Regions from separate parts of the Homo sapiens genome. Here regions 1 and 2 are each linked to region 3. The links are contacts of gene promoters, found by promoter capture Hi-C in human tissues and cell types (Jung and others, 2019). All regions are on one chromosome and are shown on one strand. Each heading gives the region's core, a stretch centred on a gene start or on the middle of the fragment in contact. The rest is flanking DNA. Distances are from core to core; before and after follow the strand shown.

Region 1 (2,700 bases), core at 77-2,576, 540 kb after region 3:
TTTTTTGGTTTGTTCAGCTTTTTACTTGTGAGAATGGAGCAGTGTCTTCCAAGCTGCTAACATGCTGGACCAGAAACTACTAACTCCTATAATGTGAGCTTTAAAATACGTTTGGAAATTTCAGACGTAGATGCTATCATATGGGCTAGGCACTGTTCTCAGTGCTATACACATTTTAACACATTTCAACCTTAAAACTACTCTAGGAAATAGTTACTGTTATGGATTTTACTTTACAAGAGAGGAGACAGGCACAGAGAGACTAAGAAATTTTCAAAAGGCCACATAGCTTCATCACTTACAAATTACGGCACAATAATATGAATCCAACCTGTTTAAATCCAATCCATGCTCTTAATCTATATGCCATTTTTCATTGGACACTACAATTATTTACATTCTTTCTGCCCTTTCTTCTTTATAAAGTTGCCTAATTTAGTTCTGGAATCCACCTGTCATAAGTTGGCCTTCTCCTTTGGAAGAAGAGGTCTCATCCATTCCTAGCAAGAGCTGAATCATACAGGGCTTACTGATTATGGTGGTTCCATTCTCTTGTTTTAGAACTGGTATAGACACAGACATGCAATAAAATTTTGCTCAAAGAGACATAAGAGAAGTTCCAGGAGACTCTTTGAAAGGTGTCTCTTTTTTTTTTTTTTTTTTTTTTTTTTTTTTTTGCTGCACACTATCATGTCTGGATATATCTGGAACTTCTGGAGTCATCTTGTGTATCTAAGAAGGTCACGTTGGGGAGAATGGGAAGATAGATAATAAAGAAGAAGGTTGGCATGGCTCACACCTGTAGTCCCTGCAACTTGGGAGGCTGAGGAGGGAGGATTGCTTGAGCCCAGACGTTCAAGACTGCAGTGAGCTATGATTGTACCACTGCACTCCACCCTGGGCAATAGAGTGAGAGATTCTGCCTCAAATAAATAAATAAACAAATGGGATAATATAGAAAGTACCTGAGCTCCTGGTTATGTCATGAAGCTGTTAAATTCACCTAGCCCTGGAGCTAGCTTTGTTAATTTTTTTTATGTAAAACACTAACATTTCCTAATTGTAAGACATTTTGATAAGGGTTTTCTGTAACGGTACTGAGAGTAACTAACTTAATAGAAAAACAAAAATAAAAACAAACAAAAACAAAACAAAACAAAAAGCGGGGAGGGTGAGTAAAACTTAAATATTTTTTAAAGTTATGTCTTTCATTTACCAAATGATATTTCCTACCATGAGATTCAGAAAATTTGGTTCCTAGAAATAAAAGCAATGTTCTCTGCAAATTTGAAGCAAACTTTCAAGATAAGTAAAAATGCATGGTATTGAATAAGGTAGAATTTAAAGTCAGTCTCTCTTGTTTCAACTTGTTATTCCAACTCTTACAAATGTTATAACCTTAAACAAGCTATTTAATCCTTTTCTAGGTCTCGGTTTCCTCATGTGTAAAACAGATAACTGATAGAAACTACCTCAGAGATACTATGAGGATTAAATGAGAGAATCTATGTAAAATTCTTAGCAAGTAACTGAGACATCATAAGAACTAAATAAATGTGAGTTATTACAATGAACATTTTCATTTTCTGAATTACAACATTCCCTAACAATTTTTCTCTGCTTTACAAGATAATCAAGTTCCTATAAGGGAAATTCACATGGGAAAAATATTAGTTCCAGTTATTGTACCTTACTAGGAATGTTTATTAAAATTCTCAACCTGTATAGTTGTAAAGGAAAAAATAAGAATTAGATTTTTTCAACTAAATCACTTTAGAAATAAGTTTATATTTTAGAATTCGCTTTTTATTCTAGTTACACTGTTGATTTTTCATTCTTTGATATAGAACAGCAAAACAAAAATTCATATGATGTTACTATTAAGAATGTTAATCTTAAATTTAGAAAATTAAACTTAGTTTTCCATTTGTACCAGGTATTGGCCATTGGTAGTTGAGATTCTGATACCTTGTGTGCATCTTTTAAGTTATTTTTTTAAATGAATATAGTAATGAAATGGAAGTTCCATGTAAATATGCTAGCATAATAAGCTGCTTTGAGTCCTTGACAATGATGCATACTTGTGGTAAGTATGAAAATAAAGTTGCCATTTTCCACAATATTAATCAGTCCCTTTGCCTCTCTTTATAACGAGGTTTTAAAAAATGCATTTTCCCAAGACTCTTCTTATTCATTTATTTTCTTAGTTTTTTTTTTTTTTTAAGCCATAGACCCAATGATTCCCTCTGATAGCCTTTTCTCATTTTATTCTCAATAATGACTCTTTGGGGAGCAATGCTATGGGGAATGAGATTGATCACCCATCACTGCTGCTGATGTGCTGTTTAACCAAGTCGGTGAACCATATACTGTCATCATAGAGGGTATCAAATCAACAGTGTGTGCCATGTAGCCTACACTCCTGTGCACCTAACAATAATGATAATCTTTTAGTTCATTAGACAGCCCAAGGAACTGCTAAGTAAGTTGCAAGATAAAAATGTTTTATGCAATTCAGGGCAATCTATATGACTGAAGAAGTTGAAAAACAGTATCTGGGGTATGTGACTTTCTGATTTAGACCTTATATGTTCCACTGATTTCAGCATTTAAGTTAAACTAGAAAAAGAAGAGCGTTTCAGTTTTGTATCTAACTTCATGATGATGTTTAAAAGAGATTCATAATTCTTAATGACAGTG
Region 2 (2,700 bases), core at 142-2,641, 840 kb before region 3:
ACTCTTCCAGTTTCGCCATGGTAACACCTGAAGAGTAACCATTCCCTTGATGTCTACAATATCACCTTTCTTGTAGATTTCGCATATACGTGGCCAAAGGGACAACTCCATGTTTTCTAAAAGGCCTGGAGAACGTATATCAGGTGCCTCTCTTCTTTCCCTTTGTGTTTGTCATTTTGGCGAATTATTGGAAGATGGCGGTTCCGGCCGAAAGGCCAGAATATTGAGGTATCTTATGGCTCCCCAGAAGCTGAGTGAACATGCATGCATGTTATATCAGAAGCGGTCCACACTATGACCTCTGATTACCTAAAGCAGTAAATCGCCAGATGTACACTTGGAGAATTATATCAAAAGCCTTTAAAGAGGTCGTTCAGATAATTTTACTTTCACATATGTGGGAAAACTATTTCACCTGTTTTTTTAGAGGTGAATCTACCTACTCTCCTACCAGCAAATCGCCTTTTTATTGTAACAGCAATACCTTTATTTTGCATGTACTTTGAGAATTAAAATATCCATGACTTCTTAAGTGGAAAAACCAGCATTATTTTCCCATAGCTATAAAAATAATTAAAATTAAATATGGAATTATATCTTTGCTAGGTATTGTCTTTTAAAACTATGATTCTAACACCTACTTTTCCTTCTGTAGAAAAGCAGATGAGCACCGGGCGCGGTGGTTCATGCCTGTAATCCCATCACTTTGGGAGGCTGAGGCGGGCGGATCACCTGAGGTCAGGAGTTCGAGACCAGCCTGACCAACATGGTGAAACCCCATCTACTAAAAATACAAAAATTAGCCAGGCATCGTGGTGCGCAGCTGTAATCCTAGCTACTCGGGAGGCTGAGGCAGGAGAATCACTTGAACCTGGGAAGTGGAGGTTGCAGTGATCTGAGATCATACCACTGCACTCCAGCCTGGGTGACAGAGCAAGACTCCGTCTCAAAAAAAATAAAAATAAAAATAAAAAAGTAAAGCAGATGAGCAAGTGTCAGAACACGGAACTGCATTTCCTCTAGATGTCGCCAGAAGGATTAGAACAGTATTGAAATCAACTTCTTCACTGTGGTATTTAATGCATTTTAAATGCAATGTCCCTGTGTACCACCTCATTTCATCCCATACTTTGGAAAACCACTATCTTAGATAATCCCCAAGATTCCTGTTGGCTCTAATATAATTTAGTAGGCAGCTCAGGCTTTGGTGTCAGACAGGAGGCTTGGACTCGTTGTGCCCTCTCCAAGTCTGACAATAACAACACAACAGCTCACAGCACTGTGAGGATTAAATGGCGATGATGGATATAAAATCCATAGCATTCCACTTGGCACATAGTAGGAGCTTCATAAATGTTCAACTCCATTTTCTTTTGTATAAATTAGACCTACCTAGTAACTTCATTTCAGGAGTGGCTCAGTGGTTGTGAAGTGACATATTTAAGATGTATTTTTTTTTCTCACCAATAGAATTAGACTGAATGTTTTTATAAGTTGTCATTTTAATGTACTCATTTTTGGAAACATATAATGTATTTAAATATAAGCATATACTGTGCTTATATAGGAAGGAAGATAAAGACACCATACTAATAAAAATGAAAGATTAACATGTAGCTAAATTTTAGTGTCAAGACTTGCATAGCTAATTAGAGAAAGGAGCCCATGGGGATGAGAATGTGTTGGGAGAAGAAGTAAAGATTATGAATAAATTTTAAATCTCTATTTTCAACATAAAAAGAGCTCGTTGTTCTCAGTTGCTTCTGATAAACCCAAATGGGAATATCCGTGATCTTTGTTCCTGCTGAACACCGAGAACCATCATGTAAAATAGGAGCAAACAGCTGGCTAAATGAAAGCTTCCTTGGAAGTCTACTGACGGAAAACTGTAGGGAGCTAGGGGCAGTCAGAGAAAAAGCTCTGTAAGATTTAATTTAAGCCCTGGATAAACACCATTCCTGCTTTCACCAGCTTTACCTAATAGAAATGGATTTTGTCAATCAAGGCCAAGTTCAGAGACAATGAGCGAGAGGGAGGGAGGGAGGCGTTTTGCATGGAACAAAGACAAAAGTGTTTTAATTTCACAAAAATACCACTCATGTTAAAATGCAAGACCCTGGGAGCCCTAGGATTTTAGGAAAAACTGGTATTAACCTGACCTTTCAATGTACCAGACATTAGCATGACTTAGATACAAATAATTGTGATAAATTATGATGATCCCTGCATTGTCACTTTCATCAGTTTTGGAAAGGTTTGAGAATCTATGTTAAGATTTAGCAGTAAATGTGGTTAACTAGGGAACCCCTAGGGGAACTAACGTGGGAGAGAGAAAAAGCTTTTTTTTTTTTTTGAGAGGAGTCTTGCTCTGTCGCCCAGGCTAGAGTGCAGTGGCGCAATCTTGGCTCACTGCAACCTCTGCCTCCCAGGTTCACGCGATGTTTTCTCTTTTCTTTTTTTTTTTGAGACAGTGTCTCACTCTGTCGCCCAGGCTGGAGTGCAATGGCACGATCTTGGCTCACTGCAAACTCTGCCTCCTGGGTTCAAGTGATTCTCCTGGCTTAGCCTCCCAAGTAGCTGGGATTACAGGTGTGAGCCACCACACCTGGCTAATTTTTGTATTTTTAGTAGAGATGGAGTTTTAGCATGTTGGCCAGTGTGGTCTTGAACTCCTGACCACAGGTGATCCGCCTGCCTTGG
Region 3 (2,700 bases), core at 149-2,648:
TAAAAATCTGTCAAATGCTAAAGCATTGCTTCATATCTTATGAACTTACTGAACATGTGTGGACCGGTTCAAAGGCTAACTAATTGAAGATACTTGGAGACATGAGCAGCAAATAGATTTGACCCATATTCAAATGATATGTTAGTCAAAAATCCTTGAATAAATACTTCAGTGCAACAAGTTAGAAAAGAAAAGAAAAGGAAAGAGGAAGGAAAGGAGGAATAGAGTCAGTCTAAACTCAGCCTCATGTTGTTTTAAGCACAGCTACCCAAGTCTTTACAAGTCAACTAGTGAGCTTTGTTTTTGTTCTTCCCATTATTTACAAAACATATATTTACTGACAAATTGAAAAGGACTTTCCAAAACTACAGCAGCACTTTTCAAACATGAAAAAAAAAAAAAAAAAACTATTGTGTTGTCCAAAAAACACATTAGCAATTGGCTTTGGGTCTTAAAGGACATGAGGATAGTTGGTTACTGTGTAAGACAGGTGAATTAATTATAGAGTTTTGGGTAAGAAAACCCTTTTTCCACTTTCTAAATCTTCAAGGATACCTTATCTCCTTGATAGCTCTAGGTTTAACAGGTATTTCTGACTGGCTTTTGGGGAGACAGTGAAGTTATTCTAAATCATCCACATCAAGGCAAGCATTTCTTTCCACAACCTATTAGGAAATATGGAATTGAATACAGAGCTTTCCATTATTCTTAAGCGATTTCGGACTGACTTTCTTCTCACCACTTGAAAACTGTCCTGGAATTTTCACTATCTTTATATAAATAAATAATTTAGTAGAGAAATAAACAATCAGATGCAAAAGAACATTACGCTTTGCTTACATGTGAATTTTCCTCAAAATAATTTCTGAATAATCGTGAAGTGGGGGCTGTGTTTTCGTTTCTAGCTCATTGCCAAAACGCGTGGAGATGGATCCTAAATCCTGGAAGGAGAGAGCTCGGCGCGCTCAGGCTCCTCTTTAAGTTGGCGGGCGATTGTTTAGAAGCTTTGGAAAAAATTACCAGTCCCCGCGGACGAAATGGAATGTGAGACATGCAATCTAACGGTAGTAGTAGAAGAGAAGTAGATGATCTCCCTCTCCTTTTCCGATCGCCACTTCTGTGTCCCCGGCTTTTCCTCTCCGTCCCTCCCACAGTTTCTTTCCGTATCCTCCCCCTCCCCTCCTCCTTTCCTCGCACGCTCCCTCTCCAGTGTCTCGCGCTCTCGGAGTCTCTGCTCCGAGTTCCTGGTTGGATAATTTGGGTTAATACTAGTGAGTGAGGTTTTTGCGGCTTCAAAGGGTATTTCAAGTTTCCGGAGCTCCTCCCCTCTGCACCGTGTGACAACAACAACTCGTCCAGCCGGCAGCCTGCACTTTTCAGCTCATTTTCTCTCTGTCATTCCCCTCTCAATCTTTGATCAATGTACTTGCCAGGGAGAGCCCAAGTCCTTCAAACCTCCTCCTTTTCACCTTCATCCTTAACTTTGTGCTAGAGCGAGACCCACACAACAACAGCCGACCCTCCCCGCCCCACCCCCACCCCCAAACCAGCCCTCGATCCCAGCCCCCGGAGAGGACTCGCATTTCGACTTGCGGGACACTTTTGTGCGTTCCTCTCCAGAGCGCCTCTCGTGCTCGCCCCTCTTGCGCTCGCTCTTTATTACCTTCACCTCCTTTTCTCCCCCTTCTCTCCCTTTCTCCTTCTCGTTCTCTCCCGGAGTTGTTGTTGCCCCCCTCGCTCCTTCTCCCCCCTTTTTTCCCCTTCCCCTCCCGGGGGTGTGTGGCAACTTTTCCTCTCGCTTCTCCTCCGTCTGTTTCCCCTTATATGTGACCATGGCAGTGCCGGCGGCTTTGATCCCTCCGACCCAGCTGGTCCCCCCTCAACCCCCAATCTCCACGTCTGCTTCCTCCTCTGGCACCACCACCTCCACCTCTTCGGCGACTTCGTCTCCGGCTCCTTCCATCGGACCCCCGGCGTCCTCTGGGCCAACTCTGTTCCGCCCGGAGCCCATCGCTTCGGCGGCGGCGGCGGCGGCCACAGTCACCTCTACCGGCGGCGGCGGCGGCGGCGGCGGCAGCGGAGGCGGCGGCGGCAGCAGCGGCAACGGAGGCGGCGGTGGCGGCGGCGGCGGTGGCAGCAACTGCAACCCCAACCTGGCGGCCGCGAGCAACGGCAGCGGCGGCGGCGGCGGCGGCATCAGCGCTGGCGGCGGCGTCGCTTCCAGCACCCCCATCAACGCCAGCACCGGCAGCAGCAGCAGCAGCAGTAGCAGCAGCAGCAGCAGCAGCAGTAGTAGCAGCAGCAGCAGTAGCAGCAGCAGCTGCGGCCCCCTCCCCGGGAAACCCGTGTACTCAACCCCGTCCCCAGTGGAAAACACCCCTCAGAATAATGAGTGCAAAATGGTGGATCTGAGGGGGGCCAAAGTGGCTTCCTTCACGGTGGAGGGCTGCGAGCTGATCTGCCTGCCCCAGGCTTTCGACCTGTTCCTGAAGCACTTGGTGGGGGGCTTGCATACGGTCTACACCAAGCTGAAGCGGCTGGAGATCACGCCGGTGGTGTGCAATGTGGAACAAGTTCGCATCCTGAGGGGACTGGGCGCCATCCAGCCAGGAGTGAACCGCTGCAAACTCATCTCCAGGAAGGACTTCGAGACCCTCTACAATGACTGCACCAACGCAAGGTGAGTCGGGGGGGATAGCC

The links. Contacts are between HindIII fragments. The study calls those that stand out against the background at their distance.
Region 1: a fragment that was not itself captured here is called in contact with the fragment with the promoter of DACH1 in region 3 in 1 of the 25 tissues and cell types used here (lymphoblastoid cells).
Region 2: a fragment that was not itself captured here is called in contact with the fragment with the promoter of DACH1 in region 3 in 1 of the 25 tissues and cell types used here (dorsolateral prefrontal cortex).

Annotation. Positions count from the first base shown.
Region 1 is chr13:71,329,017-71,331,716 of GRCh38, reverse strand. No RefSeq gene overlaps it. Among named protein-coding and RNA genes, the nearest start is that of LINC00348, 320 kb to the right of the region's middle. The HindIII fragment of the contact is 8,737 bases long and covers 1-2,700 here.
Region 2 is chr13:72,701,168-72,703,867 of GRCh38, reverse strand. It overlaps the pseudogene RPL21P110. Among named protein-coding and RNA genes, the nearest start is that of MZT1, 25 kb to the left of the region's middle. The HindIII fragment of the contact is 4,439 bases long and covers 1-2,700 here.
Region 3 is chr13:71,865,902-71,868,601 of GRCh38, reverse strand. It overlaps DACH1 (dachshund family transcription factor 1), which reads left to right and starts at 1,398. Exons shown (of 11, transcript NM_080759.6): 1 at 1,398-2,680. The coding sequence starts at 1,833. The HindIII fragment of the contact is 6,446 bases long and covers 1-2,700 here.